Regions from separate parts of the Homo sapiens genome. Here regions 1, 2 and 4 are each linked to region 3. Evidence: promoter capture Hi-C in 16 types of primary human blood cells and fetal thymus (Javierre and others, 2016). All regions are on one chromosome and are shown on one strand. Each heading gives the region's core, a stretch centred on a gene start or on the middle of the fragment in contact. The rest is flanking DNA. Distances are from core to core; before and after follow the strand shown. Region 1 overlaps CCDC192 (coiled-coil domain containing 192). Region 2 overlaps CCDC192 (coiled-coil domain containing 192). Region 3 holds the start of SLC12A2 (solute carrier family 12 member 2). Region 4 has its middle 51 kb from the start of CTXN3.

Region 1 (7,068 bases), core at 200-2,699, 280 kb before region 3:
AAATATTGAGATAAAATTTATTTTGCTAGTAGTAGTTTTAAAGTTTGTTTGATATGTAACCCTTTGAATAACATTAGCTGAATATTCTATTTATTTTATAAATGGTATTGACTGTACAAATGTCTCTTAGTTGTTAATGTTGGAGTGTTTCTTTCTGTGGAGTAAAACGAGAGGCTCATAACATTTGGCATATGTTTTTTAATCAATTACTTTATAAGAAATGATTAATCTCTGAATATCTGAGCATTAAAATATATATCATTATGTAAATTTACCTCTTGTTCAATCCAAAGGGTTTGCTTTTGGAATATATGGATATGATTTCATGTGAAGGTATATATATATATATATATATATATATATATATATATATATATATATTTATTTATTTATTTATTTGTAAATATATATATATTTATATGATATAGGGGCATTTGCATTAACCGTAGCACATCAAGCTAACATTATCTTACTCAGGCATATCCTAGTTCTTAATATATTTGTGTGTTTTTTCTTTGGGTTCTTTCATAGAATGGAAGAGAAATAGGAATGGGGGGATGATTTCTCCAATGATGGTTTTCAAAACGTAGCTGAAATAATGCTGCCATTCACGAGATTTGAAAACTGATACACATTTATGTCTGTAATACGTTGAGTATGTAAAAGAAAGAGTTACATACTTAGTTTCTAAACTTTTCTCCTTTTCAGTGCATCCAGAAATTGCAAGCTGAAGTAAAAGCTTCCCAGGAGCAACTTATAGCCCAGGTAAGTGTTTTCCTCCTTTTTTCATCCCTTTATTTATGTCATTGTTAGCTTGGAAATGAACAGAACATGGAAAGAAGTTATAAATGAGTTTCGTCTGGAGCAAACCAAATCACAAGGCTAAAAATGAGTATTTTTACTGCGTCTACACAGTTTCTTTTCATACATAAAATTCTGATTTTTGTGGATGACCAAAATTCCAAACTGAGCTCTTATATATAATCAGATGGTCTAATCAGGTGCTATCAGAAGAAGAGAACTGGAAACTTAGGACAGAAAGATGAAGAAGCCAGTCTAGTTGGGTGAGTAGGTGGAAGTGGAGAGATGTGGTAATTATTGACCCATCAGATAAAGGTCTAGAGCAGTTCTTCTTAAACTTTACTGTATGTAAGAATCACCTGATAGCTTCTTAAAACAAATTACTCAGATTCTGTTTCCTGCATGCCTAGGTTGGGGCCTGGGAATTTGCACTTTTTGGTGATTCTAGACTCAGACAATGCTGATGCTGCCAGTCTTCAGGACACACGTTAAGTGACATTATTTTTTATACATTTTTTATACATACATATATATATTACATATATTTAATATATATTATTAACATTAATATTGATTTTAGGCAAGTGACCATATAAACCAATCAGACTACATAGTTGCCCATTTTCTCCTGCAAGTACTCGCCTGAGAGAGACCCCATGAATTTCTATGGCAAATTTCATTTGCACACTAGCCTATGTTTACTCTGAGAACAACACATAAGCATCTCCTGCCACAATACCCTGTGTGTCCATGACCATAAATCTGTCACCCTGCCACTATTCCTTCCCAAGGATCTGAACAACCCAAATGCCTTAGACATCTCCTCAAAGACTTGATTGCCATCCTTTTGGTCATCTTTTTCATCCACATCTTGGCTGCTATGGAATGACTTCTTGATTAAAGATACTGACCAGTCATGTTAATGGCCAATCTTAACTACACCAGGCCCCTCAGACAGACCTGAGACCTATGAGGTTGCCCTCCAAAAGACTGCAAGATAATACATTCTGGTGACCATTCCTTTGGGGTTTGGAATGAACTGACTTGGGTAAAATATTGGTAATTGTCCCCATTTTTGTGCTAGAGAAGAGAAAAGCTAATCTGCTGTGGCAGTTAGCAGAGCTTTTAACTCTAAATTCAGAATCTTTTTTGGGCTTGTATGTTCAATTGTCCAATATTGAAAATGACTAAGGCTTGCATTTGTAGCATTGTGACATATTTAGACAGAAATATGTCTCATTAGCCAGTATTTTGTTGCAGATGCCTTTCCCCTGGTCTCCCCCTGAGGGTGCCAGATAATGACTATTGTCAGAGGATGTCCCGTCACGACATTTGATACCCACAGTCATTCACATGGAAGAAGCTTTTAGCTCAGAATTTTATATGGAGGGCAAATGTATTCACTAAAGCTCAGATATTAGCTTCCAGCATCTCTTTGTGAAAAACAGATGAAAAAAGCCATAGTTCCTGGTGCCTTAGGGAAATTCCTATAGTGTCTTCTTTCACTGCCTAGTTACTATGGATGCTATTCCTGTACCATGCTGTTACTGCTTGAGACTTGTCTGAACTAGAATTGCTTCCCTGTATTAGGGTATTGATACCAGTGACTGAGATTTCTCATATGTAATTGTCCAACATTCAGGTTTCAATACAACAGTGTATTCATGAAAGTTTTGCTTCAATGTGTCAAGAAAAACTTAAATGAAAACAGTATTAACGATAGTATTTATTGAAAGTGGATTATGTATTTTCTATGTGGAAGATATTTCACATATCTATTTTAAATCTCAACACAACCCAGCAAGGTAGTCATTAATTTTCAGAAAGAAAATGGAATCTTAAAAAGATTAGATCACTCGTCACACTCTGAAACCCATGATTTTGCTATTACAACTTGCTGTCTCTCCAAATTATATTCTCTATGTGCCATTTGAGGTATCAAATGGTGTTTATAAAGGTTCTATCTCCAACCTCCTTTTCTCTTTCTGTTCACTTTTGGTGATTCAGCAGTTCATAATGCTTCAACTCTCACTCCCATGCAGACAAACTGCCTTCTCCCACAGCAAGTTCCTTCTATCTTAAGCCTCCCCTGATTAGAGATCTGTAGTGTTTTAATGAGCACTTCTTAGAACATTGTCCCTGAAAAAAACATTCCATAGGATGCTAAGAGGTATTCTGAAAAAAAAAAAAAAAAAAAAAAAAACAACAACAACAAAAAGTAGGAAGACTGTTGGAAACAAAGTTAAATGGGTTTATTTCCTGCAAGAGTTATCCATGTACAAACAATCTCCAAGAACAGGCTGTTGTTGGTCATTTTTCCAAAAGAGTTTGATTATGAATGGTGATTTGTAACACACAGGTTTAGAGATGGCTGGTACACGGCATCAAACTGAAGTACTCTGGTTCTTAAATATGACCTGAATATCTTGCTGACACCTCAGGCTAAGAATATACAAAGCCAAATTTATCATCTTCTGTTATTATCTCTTAAATATGTTTCTCTATTCGTATCCCCCAGCCATGGTGGATAATATCACACTACTGTTATTTTTTCTAGATTCAAACTACAAAGCAGTTTTAAAATCCTACCTCTCTCTGCCTCTGTCCTACTTTGGTTAGTTGTCAGGCCCTGAATATGTTTCTACAAGTTATCTCACTTCCATGTCTTCTATTCCATTATACTGCCACTTCTCTAGCTCTTTTTAATCGTCTTATATTTTAATTATTGTAACTGGCCCCAAATTGTTAACATATGTGAGTGAATTCAGAGCCCCCCACAACCCCACTCCCCGTTACAAGGTAGCCCACTTGCTCTGGCACCATCAAGCCCTATTGAGAGAAGAGAGAGGATAAAAATCTGTGTGTAAAGATTTGGAATGGGTGCAGAAAACCAAACAGAGCAAAAGTGTAACACTCACAGGGTGAGTGTGATCTGCTGGCGTGGCAGAGAAGAGAAAGGGGATTTAAAAACCAGGGTGGTAGGAATGGAACACTGAAGATGGGGTGAGGGTTCTTCTGGAATAAGAGATGAGAGTTCTGAGGATGCTGAAGATTAGGAAATAACTTGAAGTATTAATAAGAGTTGCCTGGCAAAATATGTACTTGAACCCCTTTAAGTGAGAGTCCCATGGAAAGTTTGGAATTTCTGTTTGGAGTGTGCCTCCTTAATGTAACACCTGTGGGACCTGACCTCTATAAGAGTCTCCTGGTTTCCGTGCCTCCATCCTGAGTGAAGTTTCCAAAGCATAGTCCCTGCCCCTCATCTTCTCTTCTCCCTCACTCCCCTCTCTCTGCCTTACACTGAGCCTACTACTAGAATGGAGCTGCTATCTTTCTTTACATATCCAGTATTATTTGATGTTCTGTGATTTTGCTCACAGTATTCTCTTAAACTGGAATATCCTTCTCTCTTCTCTTCATTCAAATAACTCTTTTCTGTCCTTGCAAGACTCAAGTTATGTACCAACTTCTCCCTTAGTCCCCAGATTATTTTCTGTGGGTCCCCACAGCCTCCTTTAGATACATCTATTTGAGCTGTTAAAGTAAACATTGTAGACAAATTAAATTTAACAGAGTTCATGTGAGCAAAGAATGATTCCTGAATTGGGTAGAAATCAGAACCAGAAGAGGTTGAGAAAGCTCCATCCAGCAGCATGAGTAGCAAGCTTTTATAGGCAAAACACAGAAGCAAAGTAAAGACATTATCTGTTGGCTACCTAAGTTAGGTGTTTGCCTTATTTGGGTGTGGTTGGATCAGTTGGGTGCCTGTGATTGGCTGAAGCTCAGCTGTTTGTGACTGGCTGAAACCCAACTATTTGTTACAAAAAATATACTCCTAAGTTAGGTTTCAGTTTGTTAAGTAGGAACTCAAAATAGGGAGAGAACCTCAGGCCAATGGCCTCCTGCTTATTTAACAGAGCTCAATACACTACACTTTGTTGACATTATCTGTTTATATATCCGTTACCCACTAGACTCTAGGGACATTGAAGGCAGCACTAAGAATGTGTCTCTGAATGCACTACACCCAGTACAGGGCTGGGTGCATTGTAGCTACTCAATACATTTTGCTGAATTGCATTGAATTTTATTCTGATCATGTCATTTCCTTAGTTCCAAAGCCTTGAGTGAGACATTGCTTGTCCATTATCCCAGAATAAAGTCTAACCTCCTGACCATGGCATTTATCATGTTGACAATGGGGACCTGACCCCCTTTCCTGCCTCATCTCCATCTCCATCTGCGACCCCCAAGTGCACCCTGCATCTCTGCCCTAGCAGCTTTGCTTGTAGCTCCTTGCTACCCTGAATGCCTGTCCCTGCCATTGAGTTTGCCAGACTTTCCCCATTCTTTATCAAGATTGTTTTTTCCACGAAGTTCTCCCTATCAGTCCAGAAGTAATCTCTCCTTCTTTGGTGCGTTCACAGCACTTCTCTGTGCCTCTTTTCAGTCATTTGTCACACTATGCCCCACAAGAGAATGATCTGATGCAGCCTCTTTCTCAAGACTGCAAGTTCCTGGAGGAAGTATGTCTGTTTATCTTTATTCCTCCCACAGTGTCTGGCTCGATGTCTTGTACAGATTTTATTGAAATGAATTGTTAAAGTGGCTAAATTAAAAATAAAATTATTTTGGCATTTGTAGGAGCACCCTTTATATATCAGGGAAAATCACTTTATGACAAAGAATTGTATTCTGTGAAGATGTCAATATTACATCAGGCATTAATTTAATGAGGCTGACTCTTTCAAATATAACATGCAAGTGACAAAAGGTAAGGATCTCTTAGAGTGGAAACAGAAGGAAAAAAATAGCAGAGAAAGAAAACACAGTTGCTGGAAATTCCTATTTCACGTGAAATAAAAAGAGTTTCTAAAGGAAACATGGTCTTAACATGAAAATTAACAACGTAATGTCTTGGCTTGCTTTTATTCAGAGTTCACTGCTCTAGAACTCAATAGTTGAATAATATGATTGTTTAATTAAATTGATAGCTATGAAATGGAGAGGAGATGAAAGCCTTAACATTTCAGAGTTATCATTTGCTAATACTTTGAAGATTAAATTCTCACCCCATTAAATTTACTGTGCCTAGTCACAACTTAGACTTCTAAAGAAATTATTAAGGGTTACCCCTCCCAGTGCACATGTGGGCACCCAGGCTGAGCCATCACCGGGCTAAGCTGCCCTGGGCATCTTTATCACTCCCTCCCATGATTACTTATCCGCTTAAAGACCTACATGGGATAAAACAAATATTTGAAATGAATGTTTATAATTACTTAAAGATATCTGTTCTTGTTAGGGCGATTTGAGTCAGGACTAGGTATCTTAATAAAAAATTCCTTTTAAAATTAATGCCTTCCAAATTATGGAATCCATATGTTGCCTGTGTTTAGTATTAGCGGGTATAAGTGCTTAGCCCCATCTGTTCACTCCTTCGTGGATGACCTGAATATCTGCAGTACTCCAGATGTCTGCCTCCCCTCTTTACCTCCATCCCAACGGCCATCCCATCTCTCAGTTTCCAGCCACCCACAAGACCTGACCAGGACCAAAAGCTCTATAATATTCAATGGGTTTATTTCAAAATGGAAATCTGGGTAATTGGGTGGTAGGCACTCAAGTGTGATGTTATTCTCTATACTGTCCTGTATGTTTGATACATTTCATAATAAACTAAACAGTTAAAAACATCCAGATGAAGGAATCCTTCAAATGAATCGTACAGCATGCTTAAAAGTGTAGGACAGATGAGTGAATTTTGGAAACCAGAAGATCCTGAACCACTGAGGCCTGGAAGCTCAGGGTGAGGAACTCAGGGCATGGGAGGCACCCAGGACGGGGGTCTCCCAAAATGCTGGTTTAACTTCCTTTCCTCCTACAAAGAAGCTATAAACTGCCATTTTACTTTCTAAATTAAGAATCTGTAAGAGCGGACTGCTCCCTCCTAGAATTCCAGGCCCTCTGCTAATTGACTTGTTCTTACCATAACAGAGGACATGGCCTGTTTCCTTGGGTTTGGTTCTGTTTTGTTTTGCTGCCTAAGCATCCACTGACACACCTTTGGCAATAATACCCAGATATTCTCTACAATTGCATCTCTCCCACTATGTGCAATCTTCCAGGGCCTGTCATTCAAAGAACTCTGTCAGCTACTAGCTGAGGAGTGGACATGTGCCAACTGGACTCTCTCTCCAGGGACTCAGCACATTAAATTCAGGTGAGGAAAGAGAGAAAAAACAGTTGGAGCTGGTACATTCTACC
Region 2 (6,534 bases), core at 3,444-5,943, 320 kb before region 3:
GTAAATCACAGAGCCGCAGAGCCGGCTGTGCAGGAGACCGGGATTTTATTATTACTCAAATCAGTCTCCCTAAGCATTCAGGGATCAGAGTTTTTAAAGATAATTCGACGGGGAGGGGCCCGGGAAGTGGGGAGTGCTGGTTGGTCAGGTTGGAGATGGAATCATAGGAGCTCGAAGTTAGGTTTTCTTAATGTCTTCTGTTCCTGGGTGCGATGGCAGAACTGGTTGGGGCAGATTACCATCTGAGTGGTGTCAGCTGATCCATCGAGTGCAGGATCTGCAAAATATCTGAAGCACTGATCTTAAGCTTTACAATAGTGATGTTATCCCCAGGAGCAATTTGGGGAGGTTCAGCCACAGGCTGCATGAACCCTAAATTGTAATTTCTAATCTTGCAGCTAATTTGGTAGTTCTGCAAGGGCAGATTGGACCCCAGGCAAGAACAGGGTCTTTTCGGGAAAGGGCTGTTATCAATTTTGTTTCAGAGTCAAACCATGAACTGAATTCCTTCCCAAAGTTAGTTCGGCCTATGCCCAGGAATGAACAAGGACAGCTTAAGGGTTAGAAGCAAGATAGAGTTGGTTAGGTCTTATTTCTCTCACTGTCATAATTTCCTCAGTTATAATTTACAAAGGTGGTTTCACAAATAGCTCCTAATATTTAAGATTCTTAGCTGGATGATCTCTTTATATAACACCAAACAATTAGATGTATTTATTTTTTCAGTAATATAGCAGATTAAATATATAAAATGGAAACTGGATTTCACTTAACTTTTTTGTACCTACCATAAGTAAGGTGCTGGTTAGGTGTTTTGTGGGAAAGACATGTAAGCCAGAGCTTCTCTACCCAAGTAGCTCACAGAGAATAGAAAAATTGGAAGACATGGAGAATGAAAATAGGTGTTTATATGACTCCAAGATAAACTGCACAATAGCATTAAGTTGCAGGATCTGTACATGTTAATTGTACTAAAGGATAGTTCTTGAAGTTGCCAAATTTGCATAACCAAGTGAGTTTAATTGGAAGTTGGCCATAGTTTGAGGAAAGGGAGAGTATGATGTGTAAAAGCACATTGCAGCCATTTTCAATATTATATTTTTAATTAACTTGAGCATTTTATGAGATCTGGCTGTCTTCATTGTTACTGTTGAGAGGGGTCAATCAACACTGTTGTCAGAGGATTTAATCCTGAGATTTTTGCTTTCTCCAATGTTTAGTCTCTTCCTTGAAAACATAAAAACTTTAAGAACAGTCCTCTGTCCCCTATTTTAAAATTTAAGTCAACATTAAAAACATATGGATGAGAGGATAGGGAAAGGGGAGAAACTGATATTTCCTAAGAATGTTCTTGAGAATATTTCAGAATAGAACACCTGTCACAAACAATCAAACATTTGTCCACTGGGTGCCACTGTCTTCCTTACCAGGCCATGCCACTAAGGGATTGCAGTAAGACTGTCTTTAGTGTTAAAGACAAGGATTACACACACACACACACACACACACACACACACTCTCTCTCTCTCTCTCTCTCAATCTGTGTGTATGTGTGTGTGTGTGTGTGTGTTTGAAGGAATATTTTTGCCTGCTGTACACGTTAAGGCTTTTTCTAAATGTCATTAATTTAGGATTTGTCACAAGGATGTTGGGAATGCTAGCTTGCCTTTACTGGTAACCCAAATTATGGGCTAGCCGGGTGAAGTAGAATGAGGTGGGGAGTGTGGAAGACACGACAAGAACCAAGATTTGTGCTGGAATGAAGCAGTGGAAGCTTGCAATATTATCAAACAATGGATCCTGCCTTTGAGAAAAGGGTTAATCTCACTGTTATTCAAGACCTTATCTGTTAGCTTTGCCTCTGAGAACACAGATTTAACTCAGAATGGAAAGTATAGGTGCCTAGTGTTGTTACCTGCATTAATCATCTGTTGGTCCTGGGCCTAAATTTGTGCAAACTGGGCATTTCTAAGGTCTCCTTCAGCAAGGTCCACTGTTACAAAGAAAAAAATTAGAAATAGCCAACAAATAAGAAGGTTGTGGCCACTTCCTCCGATGAGGTCACACAGTCAACAGAATTCTTTGTTGGGCTTCACTTTAGCTTACAATTATTCTTTATTTCTCTGCAGCCAAGTCACTAATGTCAAAATAAAAGAAATAATGGGATCAGGATAACTTGCAATTAAGACTTATAATCTGGGTTAGTCAAGGCTTTGAGAAATAACTGCACCAATTCAGCCAAAGTAGAGTGAGAAAGTGTCATTTGGCTCCAACTTCTAACCTAGGTTATAATGATAAACCACTCAACATATTACCAAGTTTTGCTTAAGAAAATACTTTATTGTATTTCCCATAGGTTAAGATCAGGTGGGAGGAAAACTAAATGCCTGGATGTTGGGTAATAGATAAAAAAAAGGGTGAATAAAAGGGAGAAAAGCTGTTAGGAATGTGAAAGAAAGATGAAAAGTAAAAGCATTTCTAGAGAAGCCCATAAAAAATAGTTTTTTCATGTGTGCTGGCTTCTATCACCAGTGAATATAAGAGGACAAGGAAAGGGACTCTGGTGGACTGCTGTTTATGACCATACACAAGCAAATAGACCATACAGCTTTTGTGCTGAGACAAAAGATAGTGTCAAGAAAACCCATACTTTTGCAATGAAGTCTGGATCCAGATGCATGCCAACATAGAGCTTATGAGGTAACATTCCTTTTGGCAGCAGTGTTAGCCCAGAGTCTCTCCCATTTATCAATGGCTTCTGGTTCCCAGCTCCAGGTATCAGATCAGGGAGAGCCCAGGCTTTGTTCCTGCTCCACTATCTGCTAGCTTTATGGCCTTGGGCAATTCACTTTGTCTCCCCAGCTACAGTTGTCTTATCTAGGAGGGTGTAAACATGCTAGTTACATAGGGCTGTTGTGAGGCTGTTATTAAATGGGATAGGTATCTGTCCCTCTGTCCCTTTGTGGTTATTATGGCTGAATGTTTCTGTCCCCCTGCCAAAAAGAAAAAAACCATATATTGAAACCTAATCCACAATATGATAGTATGTGGTGGTGGGATCTTTGGTGGATGATAAGTTCTTGAGGGCACTGCCTCAGGAATGGGACTAGTGTCCTTATAAAAGAGACTCAAGGGATCTCCCTCACCCCTTCCACCATGTGAGGACAGAGCAAGAAGCTGCCATCTGTGAACCAGGAAGCAGACCCTCATAAGACACCAGATCTGTTGGTGCCTTGATCTTGGACTGCTCAGCCTCTAGAATTTGAAGAAAGAAAGAAATTCCCATTGTTTATATGCTAGCCAGTTTATGGTATTTTGTTATAGCAGCCCAAATGAACTAAGACAGTAGGTTCTCAAAAACATCTGTTTATTTTCACTCCTACCAGTGGTCATAGCAGAACTGTGTAGTTCTCTTTATGCCTTCAGCCACATAAATTAACGAGTTCCAACCTACCACAAAAGTCTTTCTTTCTCACACACACACACTGCCCCGCTCGCTACCCAAGCTCCCTTGTCATAACTTGGCTGGCTTTTCTACTATCCAGTTTTCTCTTCTACTCTTTCTCATCTCTTCATCTGGTAAAGGGATTTTAGTTCTTTAACCTTGTCTTTCCTTTCTGCTTCATCTCTTGGAGCTTCTGTCTGTTTCTGTCCATTATCTGATTTTGTACAGACTGGGAGCTGTTTTCCTTGGCAAGCTGGGGCAGGGAGGGTGTCAGGAGGTGAATCCAGTAAGGACTATGTAGTAAGAATTCATTTCATATATCTTCTGGGTACCATACCTAGCAAAATATAGTTACATATGAGAAAACTTTTTAAAGTTCATGGAAAAATGGAATTAAACAATAAAAATAAAAATTATAAATTTTATTTTTCAACATAAGCTTCATCAATTTCAAGACACTTTTGAAGTGATGATACCAGCCCTTTAGTCCACCTTAAAGAACTGAGGGTCCTGGGGATTTAACCATTTTAATACAGTGGTTTTTTTTTTTTACATCATTAACTAAAGAAAACTGAGTGCTCTTTAAAGGTTTTTTAAGACTGGGAAACAAAAATAAGGCAGAAGCAGCCAAATCAGTACTGTAAGGAAGATGCCTAATGATTTCCCATGGAAACTCTTGCAAAGTTGCCCTTTTTGATGAGAGGTCTGGGTTAGCATCTGGTACTGAAGCGAGATGAGGTAAGTTTCAAAACTTTACATTTATAACAAGTTCCCATCTCGCTTTAGTACCAGATGCTAACCCAGATCTTCAGGCTGAGGTTCTTTTTCACCCTTGTCCTGTGTTCTCCAACTGCATGGCTAACACGGTGCAACCCCATCTCTACTAAAAAATACAAAAAATTCGCCGGGCATGGTGGCAGGCTGAGATCGCGCCACTGCACTCCAGCCTGGGTGACAGAGCGAGATTCTGTCTCAAAAAAAAAAAAAAAAAAAAAAAGGAAAGTTTTAGGAAGATTGAAAAATAATAATGCTCCAAGAGCCCCGTGTTATAGTTTGCAGAGATAATCTCAGCAAGACAGAAAACCAAGTCTTAAGTTAGCAGAAGATGGCAAGAGCTGAACTCTAAGATACCCCTCCTTGTTGGAGTCGTATGATGAGACTCCTGGAATGTAAGAGGTGGGGATAAATTACCCGTAATTTGTATTTGAAGAAAGAAAATATTATGTGTATGTTGTCAGAATGAACAAGAAAGTTAAAGGAAATTCAAGAGGAGGCAAAAACGCAAAAGAAACACTCCGTTCTGAAAAAGACTTGTATCTATTCTGACTGGCTCCCCAACATCCTGCTCCCCTTCAAGCCCATTCTGGCTTATTGCAAGAACCTAATTTGGGGCATTTGTGGCTTTGCACGCTGTTCAAAGTCAAGATCAAGCCAGGTTTAGTTTCTTTGCTGTTTTTTCTGTTTGTTTGTTTTTGTTGGTCAGCACTCATTTGTTCATTTAACAATTGTTTATTGAGGATTCACTATATGCCAGGTACTATATCTAGAAGTGGGAACACAGCAGTAAACAAGATTGATAAGACCCCTGACTCATGGAGCTGACATTCTACTGGAGGACACAGATAGCAAACAAATAAACATTGAAAATACATGGAGCTTCAGATGGTGTTAAATACTTTGCTGGGCCACACTAAAGGGTATCTGTGGGACTACGCTTAAACTTAAATCCCACTGGGAAGTCTGGTTCCTGAGAATAACCTTGTGGGCCCTTGTCCTTGAGAAGCTGGTGACTGTAGCTCTATGTGCATGTGTATGTTGGAGTGTGTGTATGTTGGAGTGTGTGTGTTATTCCTGTTGTTTTTGATATGAAACAATAAAACCTAAGGCCAAATTATTGCTCTAGGTTAGATCAAGGTTCTTGGGGCTCAGGTTTTCTCTTCAAGATGGCATTTTCAAAGAAACGGGAGGATTTTAATAGTTTACTTTCTCTTGAGAGTTTTAACTATTTTGCTAATATTTACCCTAAATTCTTCAGGTATATTTATGTGTATTGTTATAAAGCTTGGACTAGAAACAAACAACGCCCCACCAAAAAAACTAATAAGTTATGTTTGACTCTAATCAGCAAGAAATTATGAATCATTTTATGCCTAAGGCCCTAACAAAACTCCCATTATTTCTCTCTTAGTACATCTTAGTGTCCAGTCTATCTTTTCTTTATGTTTAGGAATAGAAGGAACAAAGATACCAGCAAATTTTTGATACTGAATTTGTGTATTGAGTGGCTAAAAGTAATCTGATGCATACTGAGATTATCCAAAAAATGCTCTGTTTTTTTTTCATTGTTTATATGCAACAGTGGATCTTTTGATGTCAAGTTTATTTGAAATAAACAATGTGCCCTTGGTAGGAGTATTCATTTCTGCAAATGCTCAGAAATTATGCTTGACATGCCAATCTGAAATCATGAGTTTTGTGAATGAGTTTTTGTTTTCAGAACTATTTTGAAGTGTACTTTAATGCCATAAAATCACAAGCAGTCTGTTTGACCCAAAATGAGTTCCTTATCAACATGAAGCCCAGTTATCAGGAACTTCATTAAACAATTTGGCTAGCCAGAGTTCTGATTGATTTTACAGCAGACAAGTTCCCTCCTTATTAAAAAACAAAACAAAATCCAACAACTTCTCATTTAAGCAGATGTTCATCTTCATCTTGTTACTGGGTTGTTGGCATAAATTGGTAGCCTCAGAGAATGCAAGGAAAAAAATAGAAGCTGGTGAAGAGATGGTGTTGTTTTGAATAGAGTCAAACACAATGACAAATCGGCTTCTGTAGTATATTGTTGTTGCAGGCGGGATGTGTGGATTGTTGGCCTGTTACATAACTAAAAACTTCCTTTTGCTTGTAAATGTCAAGATCAAACAGAGGTCAGTTTTAAATAGCTGACCGGTGCTAATAAATGTGACTTTCTTGTCTTGGAAAAAGCAAAAAGCCTCATGCCTTAAGAGTCATGGCTCTGCTGTTAGGAGGAGGTGTCTTTGTGTATGGGCTTAACCTGTATTTTGTTCATGAGATTTTCTTTGAGA
Region 3 (7,015 bases), core at 2,777-5,276:
TCGCCCAGGCTGGGTGCTGTGGCACAATCATAGCTCACTACAACCCCCACCTCAAGTGATCCTCCCACCTCAGCCTCCCAGGGAGCTGGGAATACAGGTGCGTGCCACCACGCCCCACTAATTTTTGAATTTTTGTGGGTTTTTTTGGTAGAGATGGGGTTTCATTATTGTTGTCCAGGCTGGTCTCGAATTCCTGAGCTCAAGCCATATACCCGCCTTGGCCTCCCAAGTGCTGGGATTACAGGTGTGAGCCACCTTGCCAGGCCTAGAGAGTTTTAATAAGCACAAATCTGATTATGTGCCCCTCAATCTATCCAGAAACCCATTAATGCTTTTATAGGGCTTTTAGAATACAGACACATCTCTTACTACTTTTGCCCCCAATCCTTCCCTATGCTTTAACCAAACTGATTTCAAGCTTCTTGCTTCTTTGATAGTCCCTGCTCACTCCATGAGGGCATTTGTCCACAATATTTCCCTTGTTGGAAACCCTCTAGTGACAATTTGGTCCTAATTTTCCTTTAGACCTTTGCTAAAAAGTCACTTCTGTCTTGACTAAGTCTGGCCTATTTTGCATTTTCCTTATACTACGTTCCTATCCCCTAGAACTTCTGTTTGCAGTTACAAATTTATATGAGTGACTACTATTTATTATTAATACACATTTGTGTGTTTCTTCCAACAGACATCTCAGACTAAGCTCCTGATATTCATCCAACCCAAACCTGTTCCTTTAACCTCCTTTGCCATCTCAGAAAATAGCAATACTATTCTTCCAGTTGCTGAGGTCAAAACCCTTGGACTCTCACACTTCACATCCATCAGCAAATTCTATTGTTTCCCCAGAATTCAACTACTTTTCCCCATTTCCACTGATACCCACTGTGGTCAAAGCGCTATCATCACTTCCTGGATTGCTGTAATACCTCTTAACACATCTCCTTGCTTCTTTGACCCAACCATTTATCCCTTGCCTACCTACAAGACAGCTAGATGAATCCTTTAAAAATGGCAGATGTCATTCCTCCACTGAAACCTTCCAATAACCTGCCATCTGCCAAGGACTGTTGTGTACCCTGCTAAATTAATATGTTGAAGCCCGAATCCTCTCCTCACTCCTATGTGACTGTATTGGAGACAGTCCTTTTAAGGAGATAATTAAGGTTAAATGAGGTGATCAGGGTAAAGCCCTGATTCCACAGAACTGGTGCCCTTATAAGAAAAGAGACAACGCTCTCTTTATCATCTGAGGAGACATTGAGAAGGTACTGTCTGCAAGCCAAAAAGAAAACCCGAACATGATCATGCTGGCATTCTGATCTCAGACTTCCAGCAGGCAGAACTGTGAGAAAATATATTTCTACTGTTTGAGCCACCCAATCTATGTATTTTGTTATGGCAGCCTGAGCTGACTAACACACTATTCTACTAAAAAAGTCAAGTATGTCTAACAGCCAAAAAAGGTCCTAAACATTCTGATCTACTACATCCCATATCCTAAGCTCTCTGATGTAATTGCCTTTGATTCTTCACATCTCTTAAGCAAGTTCCAGCCAAACTGGCTTACATGCAATTCCGTGAGCATGCTAAGCATGCTCCTGCCTTTGGGTCTTTGGTTTCCCTCTGCTTCAGACACTTTTTTTCCCAAGAACTCATATCACTCACTTCCTTACTCAAATATCACCTTCTCAGTGAGGCCATCCTATGGAAAATTTTATGATCCTCATTTCACACAAATATCCCATTTCCCTTTCCTTAGTACTCACTGCTTGGATGCTATGTATTTTACCTATTTATCTTGTCTATTGTTTCTCTTTCTCACTAGAAAGAACTCCATGAGAGATGGGATTGTCCGTTTTGCTCACTGCTATATCCCGTAAATACAGAGTAGCTCATAGTACCTGTTCAGTATTTATTCAACTAAATGAATGTTGAATTCCAATAGTGGCAGAATTCGTTGTGGAGCTGAAAGGTACTGCACGGATCAACTACTAATGCAGCAATTCCCTAGTAGAAAACTGCACTGCTTAAAGGACCACCTCATTTTTCTGGCCTCCTCTGGTTATTACTAAAGCTCAAAAGGAGCTTTAAAAATCCTGATGCAACAGCTGTTTTCCCCTCTCACCGTCTTTAAAAATAGAGATAATAAAATAGCCTGAAAAGTTGTCAAGTTCAAGTAAGATCATGTTTATGACAATTTTTTGAAAATTGCCTGGTTGCAGCTTTTACTTACAGCATTTTCAAACAGTTCTGCCAACTCTGTGGCTCTTTCATCATGTTTCAAGTGTTCAGCAAACGATGGTGTTCGTCTCCATAAAGTCAAAGTTTAAAAATACAAGGGCCGGGCGCGGTGGCTCATGCCTGTAATCCCAGCACTTGGAGAGGCGGAGGTGGGCGGATCACGAGGTCAGGAGATCGAGACCATCCTGGCTAACACGGTGAAACCCCGACTCTACTAAAAATACAAAAAATTAGCAGGGCGTGATGGCGGGCGCCTGTAGTCCCAACTACTCAGGAGGCTGAGGCAGGAGGAGAATGGCGTGAACCCAGGAGGCGGAGTTTGCAGTGAGCCAAGATCGCACCCCTGCACTACAGCTTGGGCGACAGAGCGAGACTCCGTCTCAAAAAAAAAAAAAAAAAGTACATAAATAAAAACCAAGTAATTGGAGGACGCCATTCATTGATTTTACTTAGGACTTTGGGCATAATCTATAGGTTTAAAAATTTCTGCTGCTAAGAAAGTGGGAACACAGTTATATTCCCTTACATTTTACCGAAGAGAAACTAGACCTGCAGAGGAGTACCTTTCTGTTTCTATATAAGCAGAGGAATTCTGCACAACCCAAATCACGCAGAAACCTCCTGGTAAGGACTCCACGGGTAGTTATTGCCGGCATTGTATTCTGAGAGATGAGCTGCATATCACTTTTGGAAATGCCTTAAATTAAAACTCGTCTTGAAACAACATGACGTCTCAAAGAAGCTCCCTTCTCACCTTGGAACATCAGCTTTTAAAATAAAGGTGTCATCAGAAGTGTGTAGACACCCACTGCATCACAACTGGAACTGATCTCTGGTTATGCCAATCTAGGTCTGCCTGGCAGGGTGAGTCTACCGCTCGAAAGCTGCACAGAGGAAATCCTCCCTCCTCCAGGTTCAGGCCCGGAGTTACGAGCGGAGATTCGCGGCGGCGGGTCAGAGCCCAGAGCAAACCAGGCTGGGGAACGCACCTCGCCCGCGGCTCCGGAAGCGGCTGCGGCCCCGACCGGAAAGCCCCCAGCATCGCCCGAAGGAATCGCGGCTGGCCTGCGGCTCCGGCCCGGCCTCGGGTACCACGCGCCTAGTGGGAAGCCGCACTGACGCCTGCAGCATCTCGCGAGATTTCGGGCTCAGCCCAAGTACTGCGAGTTCACCAAAGCGGGGGGAAAAAAAAAAAGCCAGCGTGCGAGAGCCTCTGAAGCCGTGGCTGGGGCGCTGGGGTGGCAGCTGCCGCGGGAGCATCAGCTACCGGCGTGAGGCGAGGCAGGGCACGCGCGCCGTCCGCAGCCCCGTTGCCTGGGCTGCAGGTCCACTGACGCGCGGCCCCTGGGTGGAGAGAGGGGAGGTGGCCTGGGAGCCCGCTCCTTTTCGCCGCAGAGCGCGGCGGGGGAGGGAGGTGAAGGCGTGGGAGGAAGGCGGCGGAAGAGGAGGTAGCCGCGCGGAGATCCTCCCGGCGACATCACTGAGGCGGAGCGTAGCCGCGCCTGCTCCCCGATCGCGCCGTTCGTGCTGCCCGCACTGCCCGAGGCCCTTTGCGGACTGGCTGGCCGCGCTCTTCGCACGGGGCGCTTTTGCGTGGGGTCGCGCAGGAGCCGCGGAGGGCCGGATCGCTGAGGGAGCGTCAGCCGCGCGCCGCTGCGGGACCGCGGGTGGGCGGGCTGAGGGGCGGAGGAGCCTCCGGCCCCGCCTCCCGCGTGCTGCTGCCGGAGCCGCCGCCGCCGCAGCCCCGCCGAGGCTTTAAACAGCGGGGCCCGCCCCGCGCCCGCCACACTCGCGCGCTCGCTCGGCTGCCGGTGGCCTCTGTGGCCGTCCAGGCTAGCGGCGGCCCGCAGGCGGCGGGGAGAAAGACTCTCTCACCTGGTCTTGCGGCTGTGGCCACCGCCGGCCAGGGGTGTGGAGGGCGTGCTGCCGGAGACGTCCGCCGGGCTCTGCAGTTCCGCCGGGGGTCGGGCAGCTATGGAGCCGCGGCCCACGGCGCCCTCCTCCGGCGCCCCGGGACTGGCCGGGGTCGGGGAGACGCCGTCAGCCGCTGCGCTGGCCGCAGCCAGGGTGGAACTGCCCGGCACGGCTGTGCCCTCGGTGCCGGAGGATGCTGCGCCCGCGAGCCGGGACGGCGGCGGGGTCCGCGATGAGGGCCCCGCGGCGGCCGGGGACGGGCTGGGCAGACCCTTGGGGCCCACCCCGAGCCAGAGCCGTTTCCAGGTGGACCTGGTTTCCGAGAACGCCGGGCGGGCCGCTGCTGCGGCGGCGGCGGCGGCGGCGGCAGCGGCGGCGGCTGGTGCTGGGGCGGGGGCCAAGCAGACCCCCGCGGACGGGGAAGCCAGCGGCGAGAGCGAGCCGGCTAAAGGCAGCGAGGAAGCCAAGGGCCGCTTCCGCGTGAACTTCGTGGACCCAGCTGCCTCCTCGTCGGCTGAAGACAGCCTGTCAGATGCTGCCGGGGTCGGAGTCGACGGGCCCAACGTGAGCTTCCAGAACGGCGGGGACACGGTGCTGAGCGAGGGCAGCAGCCTGCACTCCGGCGGCGGCGGCGGCAGTGGGCACCACCAGCACTACTATTATGATACCCACACCAACACCTACTACCTGCGCACCTTCGGCCACAACACCATGGACGCTGTGCCCAGGATCGATCACTACCGGCACACAGCCGCGCAGCTGGGCGAGAAGCTGCTCCGGCCTAGCCTGGCGGAGCTCCACGACGAGCTGGAAAAGGTGAGCTCGCCCAGCCCTCCCTTCTTCCCCAGCCCCTGGTGCATGCCGACCGCGGGATGTGGCTGCAGACTCTTCCCGAGTTGAGGTGGCGGGAGTAGTAGACGTGCACGACTTGCTGGCATCTCTGGATTCAGCTGTCAAGGGTGGAATTGCCGAGGAATGTTAACTTAATCTCTCAAAAGTTTGTAGCGGGTTTGGCTAGTTACGTGATACCGGAGGGCTGCCTCTAACAACCTTCCCCATCCAGTTAGGTATCTCGTGTGCACTTTCTTTCCCACCCACGCTCAACAGTCACCATCCCTCTGAATGACAGTAGTGTTTGTGGGCCCTTTAGAGGAGAATGTGCAGTGAGGATCTCTCGAGAGAGGTTGGAGAGCACCTACCATCTGTGTCGTTTTGAAAGATTGTGTTGTGTGGCTTATGTACGCCTATTAGGGATCGCAAGAGTGGGAATGTTGCTGTTTGAAGGAAAACCTTAACAGGGTGTGTTTATGGTCTATGAGTTATTAAAGCTCAATTCTTGCAATCTTGAATATACAAAGGATCATAGAGATCTTGTCTTGGGACACGCTGTTCCTAATAATGGCATAACTCTTTTTTTTTGCGATGAAAACGTTTTGGGAGAGGTGTATATTTAAAAAAAAAGGGACAGAGGCGAGTCTTTAAAGAAAAAAGGGAAACAGGAGAATTGGTTTTTCTGTAGAGGATGACCAGAAAGACCTGTGGGGTCTTTGCCATAAGCAGTTACACTTTGTAAACAGAAAACCATCCCCATAAACTCATTGATTTTTGTAACTATTTTTTATGGTCACATAAGACTTATTTCTTCAGCGTTCAATGTCACTGTTTTGAGATAACATTGATGCTTTTGAGATTTCGTTAATGTTTAACTTTTTTATGAGCCGGGATTACTTGAAGTCTTCCTTTACAAGTGTGTAATGACTACATTGATGGAATTTGTGAACGCAAGAGGATGGTACCACATAGGTTGAAATGATCACAGTTTGGACAAGTTTAAATCCAGTATGTGATTTCTTTTGGATATGATTATTTGATCTCATACAGTGATTTCATACAAGATTGTACTTGTCCCAGTGTTTGATAATGTAACATTCACACAGAGGTAATTACAGAGCTCTTACAGCTTATTGATTGTTTAAAAGCCTGAGATCATTTAGCTTTAGATAATACTATTCTTGTTATTCCATTGTGGTATTTTGTCATAATCAGAAGCAAAACAATGTCTAAAACATTTTTTATTCATACTCCTGTAGTTTCTATCAAGTCTATTCTTTTTTCTTTTCAAAACTCAAAAATCATTGTAGACAAAAGTAGATATGGAGCTGGCAATTTTCATTATCTTAGGACAGTTTTACTAATGAAAATATTATACAGATATATTTTAGATTTATTTTACCAAAGCCAAGTATGTGAGCAGTAAAGTGATCTGTATTTACCCATAAGTTTTAGAAAGACATCCAATTGAAAGGTATATATGTTGAGCTTATATGCTTCCTAGGGAAGTTTTTGCTACTTTAAATTAAATTATCTCAATAACAAAGCACTTCAAGTTCTCCAAAACTTTAGATTTGTGTGTTTGTGTTTTTTGCTTGGCTTTTTGGTTCAAAGTATCTAAAAAACAACACCTGTACTGTTAGTTGTATGGTAGTTGAAGAAATCACCCAACCTCTTAGCTTCAGCTTTTCAGGGTTATCATGAAGATTAGAAAAAAAGCGCAATAAAAATGACCATGTTCAGTGCCTGGAAAATAATACCTAGTTGTTATTTCCCTCTTATATTGGCCCTTCAGAAGACTCTAGGATCTCAATTTTAGATTCTGTTAATTCTTACGTTATTAGGTGAATGTAGTATATAAATATTATGTTCAGTTTCATTTATGCAACAGGTACTTTAATTCTTTGTAGTTTACCTTCTGCCACTCATAATCTTTATGGCCACTGTTTTATTGGCTTAACTAATAACTACATGTTGAAGATAATTTTGCTTAGAATTTTAGCAGATGGATTAAAGAAATGGGTGTTAA
Region 4 (6,537 bases), core at 3,556-6,055, 480 kb before region 3:
GCAGTTCTCATCCAGTTCCAGGCCTCTGTAGAGTGAGCCCTGAGACCATCCCTCCCCAGGCTAAGAGGTGGTGGGCCTCTCTACGAGCTGTGGCTTCCTTGGGAAAACTTGATGTAGGTGACAGGTGGGACTCCAGGGAGGTACCATGGCAGACAGGTCAGGCCATCCTGACTTTGAATGTTGTCTCCACAATCAATGGAGATTTAGAAATCCAATTTAAAAATCCAAAAATAATATATACCTATTGTGGAGGTTTAATACCTACTTAATTGGCTTCTTGTGCTACATAATGGAAATCCAGTTCATTTACTTCCTTCTTCCCATCTTACCTGGCAGTGTTTCTTTTCTTTTAATTCTTAAAACCCCTCTGTGGGAGGCTAGCATTCTTAAACTTCCCTGTTCTGTGCCCTGTTTGCTTTACTTACTTGAGAAAGTAACCTATTAAACCAATTTCTAATAAGATATAAATAAATGATAATTGCTTAGACTGAAGATTCCCTTTTAACAGAGGAATTTGGAAGCTGGAAAGCAGAGGAGAAATCTCAGACCCTGAACATCCCCACTGTGTTGACCTGGGAAAGGTCCAGGGCTGCAGAGCCACGTTAAGCACCTGCACTAGGCTGGGTCTTCACAGAAGACAAAACTACCTTTTCTCCAATGTGGGCATCCAACTATGACAGCCGATGAGCAGACAGTGAGCTGACATCTGCCACCTTGACTGGCCACCTGCTCTGAGCTCCTCTGTGCCCAGCTCTAAACTGGGAGCTTTACAACAGAATCGCATTGTGTCTTTGTAACATCTTGAAAGGAAAGGTATTGTTAGCTGAGAGACCCAAACCAGGCAAACTTCAAAGCAGTTGATCATCCCAGACGCACCCCTATGAGAAGAGAGCATTGAAGATGTTCAAGTAACACATATGTGGGAGAAAAGTAAAAGATGAAAAAGTAAAAGATGAACACTTTGAAAAGAGGAGCAGTGAGGGGTAAAAGATGAAAGGAAAAGTCACCAACTTTAAACGCTTGAGGTTTTCCTTGAACTCTATCTTCCTTCCTTGCTAGTTAGTACTCATTTCTGTTAGATCAGCACACAAAGCTACTTTTCACAAATCTGCCAGGTACTCAACTGGTAACATGAGGTCAAACAGAAATGCGCATTCACGCCCTTTAATCTGGAGCTGGCATTTGGCAGAGTTTGTGGAGACTTAACTTTAATTAATTGAGTCCTTAGGAATAGAGCTGACAGTTTCCCTTTCACGGATTTTAGAAAGTTGAAATATTTTCCTCCAAGAACTTGATTGTTCTCTAAATCCCCCTGCCTGTGGAGGAGGCTATCATAAAACAGATGACTTGATTTCTTAGAGAGTCTTTCTCGTCAGACAACAAACACGATGTTATTCATCCTTGCAGGAAAATGTAGGTCCTAAGAGATAAGCAAAGGGGTATTTGGTGATAAAACTGGAGAAAAATAGAAATGTTATAATTGAGCTGTGATCCCTAAACACTCTTCCTGCTCTTCCTCAAAAAACTTCCTGGTGGCTTCCCATCTCACCCCACTGAAATTTAATGCATGATTTAGTCCTGCTGAAGAAATCTCAGCACCCACTTGAACAGCACCCCCCTGATCTCAACCTCTCTCCAGAGGTCTGAGCCCACAGCCATCAGCCATCTCTTAATCCATAAAGTAAATGGGGCTTAATGCTGGCGGCAGAGGTCGCAGCAGGAGACCGGGCTGCACTTGCCCAAGATACAGGCTTGTATGAGCATGCCTGTGGGACAAGTAGGTGAGCCTGCCAGGTGCAGTTTCCATGATGACCAGGGCATCTGCTAGGCAAGAAGATGCTCTAAAAGCAGAGTCAGTTATGCTGCATAGATTGCACAAAGTGAGTTCTGAGGAAGCACTGTGTGGATCCATAATTGCCCCCAGGGGTGTTGGGTTGTGTCCAAGGGAGGGGGCTGAAGTGAGATGGTGGATGAAGCTTAAGAGCTCCTGATGATGAAGTGCCAGCGATCCAGGCTTCTGGAGTTGGTTTTGATGGACGGCCACTCCTTCAGTGTGGACAGTACCTGCGTTGATGTGACTTTGCTGGGAACTGCCGGTGGCCTTGTCATATGTTAGTGCCCTGGCCAGGTAGGAGCTGCAGGGGCAGCATTCTGGTGTGTGCCCACAGTGCTGTGCCTCTAGTGAACATTGTCAGTGATGGCTGACGATGGGTTACAATTGCCTTTGAAGATCACTGTGACAAGAGACAACTGTACAGTGAGCAGCACTAATAGCTGTAAACAGAGAGAAGGGCTTCACAAAACATGGGCAGGACCTCTTTGAGAATTCCCATTATTAACAAGCTGTATTCCCAAGGGAGAGGTGTGCTAGAGTTCCTCCTGACTCAGTGGAGGCTGAATCAGAGAAATTCTGTGTAATGATGTTATGTTAAAACTTCTGCTACCCCTGGGTGCTACCCCTACACGCTATAGGGAATCAAGCATATGTGTGTTTGGAGGTGGGTCTCTGCTTTGATTGTTGATGGCAAGCTATGAGATGAGACAGGCAGAGTGCTCACTGAGAACCATGCTGGGTCAGGAAATCAAGGGGCCCTGAGGCTGAAAGTTGAAGAGATCCAGTGTGGTTACTGACTTTCCCTCAAAGCCAAGTGAAAGTCAATAGCCACACTATATCTCTTCAACTTCCTGCTGGGAAAGGAAGTTGGAGAGATTCAGTCAACAGAAAGAGGAAAGGTCAATAGCCACTTTGGATCTCTTCTTACTGATAGCCAGGCCAGGCTGTCAGCAGCACCACTGATTCTCTAGATCTGGCCTACCCCTTTGACACTAGTGGAGTAGTCTGGGGACTCATTTTCCAAGGAGAGTGCCCTAATTTAGCCATGACGGTAAGTGGTGTTTTGGCAGAGGGATGACATTCTGGGCAAAACATGTGTTGGAGGCTTGGACACCTCTGACCTAGCCACTTTAGCATCCCGAGTAGTCTGGGATAGTGATTGAGTTTGTGTGTAGGGTGGGGAGCTATGTCTCTAGAGAGCTGTATGGCTGAGAGCAATCTTAGATGAACAAAATACCAATGCTTCTCTCCCCTGAGCGGGGAGCAACTCCTGTCAGGTTAGCACTGGTGGACTGCTGTGGTCTGCTCAGCAGGGAGGGCTACCTTAACACAGCAGCGATAACAGCCACTACCACTGACGAGCATAAACTACTTGACTGATCATGGAAGATGTCTCACTTTCTCTCCTGAAAGGGCTGCCTATCAAAATGACCCCTTTGACTAAGTAAATACCTCTGGGTCTTAGAACTTCTTTTGGGAAGGAAGGCCCCAGGAATGGAAGAAACACTTTCCTCCATGGGTGTACTGATACCTTCATTTAATTTGAATATTTTAAAAAATGGTACCTTATTTTGCTTCCCAAGTTGGTAAAGAAGGACAGAACAATTCCATATTACACTGTGCAGATTACTGAGACGCCAGTAAATGTATGTTCCTATTCACTTTCCAATTATCTTTAGTGCTGTCTTTAGTGTCTCGATAGGACTTTGAAAATTTTGAGAAATCAGTAGTTCCTGCTGGTAGCTGTGGTCATGTGAAGATATGGAAGAGCTTGCAAACACAGGATAAACAAGTGAGAGAAAAAAAGTTTGAAGCTTGTCTTCATGAATTAATTATAAAGTGCCTGAAGTAGAAGATAGGACTTGGTTTGAAAAATAAGAATGTCCTGTGGTTTAAATCACTGAGCTGTCTCCATACACCATCAGCCTCTAGCAATGATCTCTGAACCCTGTCTTTCTTTTCAGTCCTTGTGAAATAATGAATCCTTCTGGAAGATGACTGGTGGATAAAATAAGAAATAAAACATTCACTTCCAGGAAAAATGGAACTAGGCACTGTCAACTCTCATGAGCTTTGTTCTAAAAGTTTTCTTCTTAAATAATTACAACAGATATCTTCTTAAATTCTGCCACATATCCAAGACCAAGATTTAGAAATAGGTTGCAGTCTTGCTTTAAGTGTTTGATTGCTGATGCAGATCCATTTAAAAAATGGCTTTATTTTTAACATATTCTCTTTTGAAACATCAAATAGTCAGGCCTTCCCAAGGCCAAAATAGGTTTTGGTCAGGCAAATTAGATCATGTCCAGCAGTAAGAATAAGCAAAAAAAAAAAAAAATGCTGTAAAGACTGTTAAGGAAACCATCTTAGTCTACAGATGCTAATCAGTTGGTTGGAAGCTTTGTTCATAGCATCAATGTATCTTTCAATATTATTGCTGCTTACTGGAAAGCCAGAGACTTACAGAATCTCTTAGCCTGACTTTATGATTTTTTTCTATTGGCAGTTAACTTTGGATCGTGGCTGTCTTAGTTCCAGTTATCTGGAAACTGCCTTTGAAATGGAGATTTGTGTGTGGGAGGTTATTGAGGCCCACCCTCAAGAATAACACCAGTAAGGGAGCAAGTGAAGCAAGACTGAGTAGACGAAGAAGTCGTGTGTGACATGGTTGCAGTTGAGGTTTGAGCTTATCCCACAAGGAGGTCAGGAGCTGTGATGACCTTTCTGTTTTGCCTGGAGTAAGGCAAGCAGGATGGGTCTTTGCCTCCTCTATTAATCAGTCATTGGAAGAGGTCTCTCCTAAGGGAGGGTTGTACCTTGGCAAGGCAGCTCCTTTGGCTGAAGGCAATCCCTGGAAAGGGACACAGCTGTGAGCCCTTAACAGCCCACATTCCTCTCACCTGGCAAAATGAGTTCCATGGTTCTGACTGGAATGGAGAGAAGTGGAGGGGGCATTAAGGCAGTACACTAAAGATCTACAGCAAGTCCCCTTATTAAAGAGGCCCCTTAATTAAGGTAGACGGCGAAAGTTTGTTACTGTCATCTAATATTGTGTAACATCTCACCTTAAAACGTAGTGGCTTAAAACAACAAAAATAATTAACTGACCCACTGGTTTCTGTGGGTCAGAAATTCATAAATGGCTTGGCAAGAATCTTCTGTTTGTACTGCCTTGTGTGAGTGCAGTCAGCTGGTGGCTGAAGCATCTGGGGACTGGCCAGGCAGCTCTCTCTGCTCATGCAGTCTTGGGGCCTCTCCGTTTGGTCTCCTTGTGTGGCCTAGTTTGGTCTTTCTCACAGTATGGCAGCCTGGCACTTCTTACATGGAGGCTTAGGGCTCCACTGGTGAGGGTCCCAAGAGAGACTGGAAGAAACTACATGGCATTTTCTAATCTAGCTTCAGAAGTCATGTGGCATTACATCTTCCACGTTCTATTTGTGTCAGGGACCACCCAGTTTCAAGGGGAAGAGACAGATTCCACTTCTTGATGAGAAGTGACAAGATCTGTAAGAACATGGGCATTTTTGACAATATAAAGGCTATAAAGCTTATATTTTCTGATAGTAATAAATCCCATGAAAAAGAACTAAAAAACAATGGTATAACTAAAATCATTTGATTCTTTTTAGTTACACCGTTGTATATATGTGTACCCTATATATGTATATATGTGTACCATATATAATTATACCATGTATAATATACAGTGTACCATATACACACACATACAAATACACACACGCATACACACACACACAAACACACACACTCAATGCTTAAGTTCAGCTCAGACTATTTCATCAATTGTAAGAAACTAGACCTAGATACCAAACCCAGCATTACTAGCTTCTAATAAGTATGCTATATGAGGGTATAAGAGATACTAGATAAACAAAAGTTATTCCTGTTACAAAAGTCAGTTGAATGAATTCCACACTAGTGTTGGTTCATTCTCAGCCTATATTTTTCATATCATAATGCACAGTGCCCAATAGTAAATCCCTTTTTTGCAGCAGTACTGGGAAAGGATGCTTTGAACCTCAATTTTAGGCCACAGAAATACTACTGGCTTCCCAACTCTTACTTACCTGAAGAAATATGGTCACCACCTTGGGAATTTTGTACCTCAAGTTCAGTTTCAAAACTGGCAAAAAATTGTTAGCTCTGGATTCATTTGGTCAATGCTAATAGGTTTGTCTTTCTGAAGTTTATTCGATGGCTCCCAGGAGGAAAACACAACTACCTCTGTGTAACGAAATGTGGGAAACAAAAACCAGCCATGATGCCTCATGGATTTGCTCCACTTTTAGCATCCTTGTCATTCAGCCTAATCTCTCTCAATGCCATGCTAAGTGACCAACATTACCAAACTGGTAGATGAAACTATGAAGGCAAGCACACCATTAGCATTTGTTTGGAGGAAACAAGAAGATTAGTTTTAGGTTAGAAATCCATCAAATTATGCTTTCCAAAAAGGCTTTACAATATCTCTTGGTTTAAATAGGAAAGGCTGTTTAGTTTACGATATGTTGCTATGGAGTGTACAATATACAATTTAGATGATAATAAATGGGACTCCAAATGCTTTTATGATGCAGAACATTTTTTAGCAGTGTTTGGCAGTATAATCAATGTTGTTTTCACAACTTAAAAAAAAAAGCATTTGATGGAAACCTGCTGTTACAGAATGACATTGTAATGTG

The links. The method cuts DNA at HindIII sites, captures the fragments that hold promoters and counts their contacts. A CHiCAGO score of 5 or more calls a contact.
Region 1: a fragment that was not itself captured here is called in contact with the fragment with the promoter of SLC12A2 in region 3 in 1 of 17 cell types (endothelial precursors); the score reaches 5.6 in endothelial precursors.
Region 2: a contact is called between a fragment that was not itself captured here and the fragment with the promoter of SLC12A2 in region 3, in 4 of 17 cell types (M2 macrophages, endothelial precursors, M0 macrophages and 1 more). The highest score is 7.8, in M2 macrophages.
Region 4: a contact is called between a fragment that was not itself captured here and the fragment with the promoter of SLC12A2 in region 3, in 1 of 17 cell types (fetal thymus). The highest score is 5.9, in fetal thymus.

The regions. Positions count from the first base shown.
Region 1 is chr5:127,797,398-127,804,465 of GRCh38, forward strand. CCDC192 (coiled-coil domain containing 192) reads left to right here. Exons shown (of 7, transcript NM_001317938.2): 5 at 709-765. Among named protein-coding and RNA genes, the nearest start is that of CCDC192, 98 kb to the left of the region's middle. The HindIII fragment of the contact is 1,425 bases long and covers 738-2,162 here.
Region 2 is chr5:127,756,283-127,762,816 of GRCh38, forward strand. All of the region lies in intron 3 of CCDC192 (coiled-coil domain containing 192), which reads left to right. Among named protein-coding and RNA genes, the nearest start is that of CCDC192, 56 kb to the left of the region's middle. The HindIII fragment of the contact is 1,622 bases long and covers 3,883-5,504 here.
Region 3 is chr5:128,079,740-128,086,754 of GRCh38, forward strand. SLC12A2 (solute carrier family 12 member 2) reads left to right here and starts at 4,027. Exons shown (of 27, transcript NM_001046.3): 1 at 4,027-4,971. The coding sequence starts at 4,216. SLC12A2-DT (SLC12A2 divergent transcript) reads right to left here and starts at 3,436. Exons shown (of 4, transcript NR_152813.1): 1 at 3,231-3,436. RefSeq lists a silencer at 3,691-4,520 and an enhancer at 5,011-5,180. The HindIII fragment of the contact is 20,683 bases long and covers 417-7,015 here.
Region 4 is chr5:127,594,995-127,601,531 of GRCh38, forward strand. No RefSeq gene overlaps it. Among named protein-coding and RNA genes, the nearest start is that of CTXN3, 51 kb to the right of the region's middle. The HindIII fragment of the contact is 1,148 bases long and covers 4,232-5,379 here.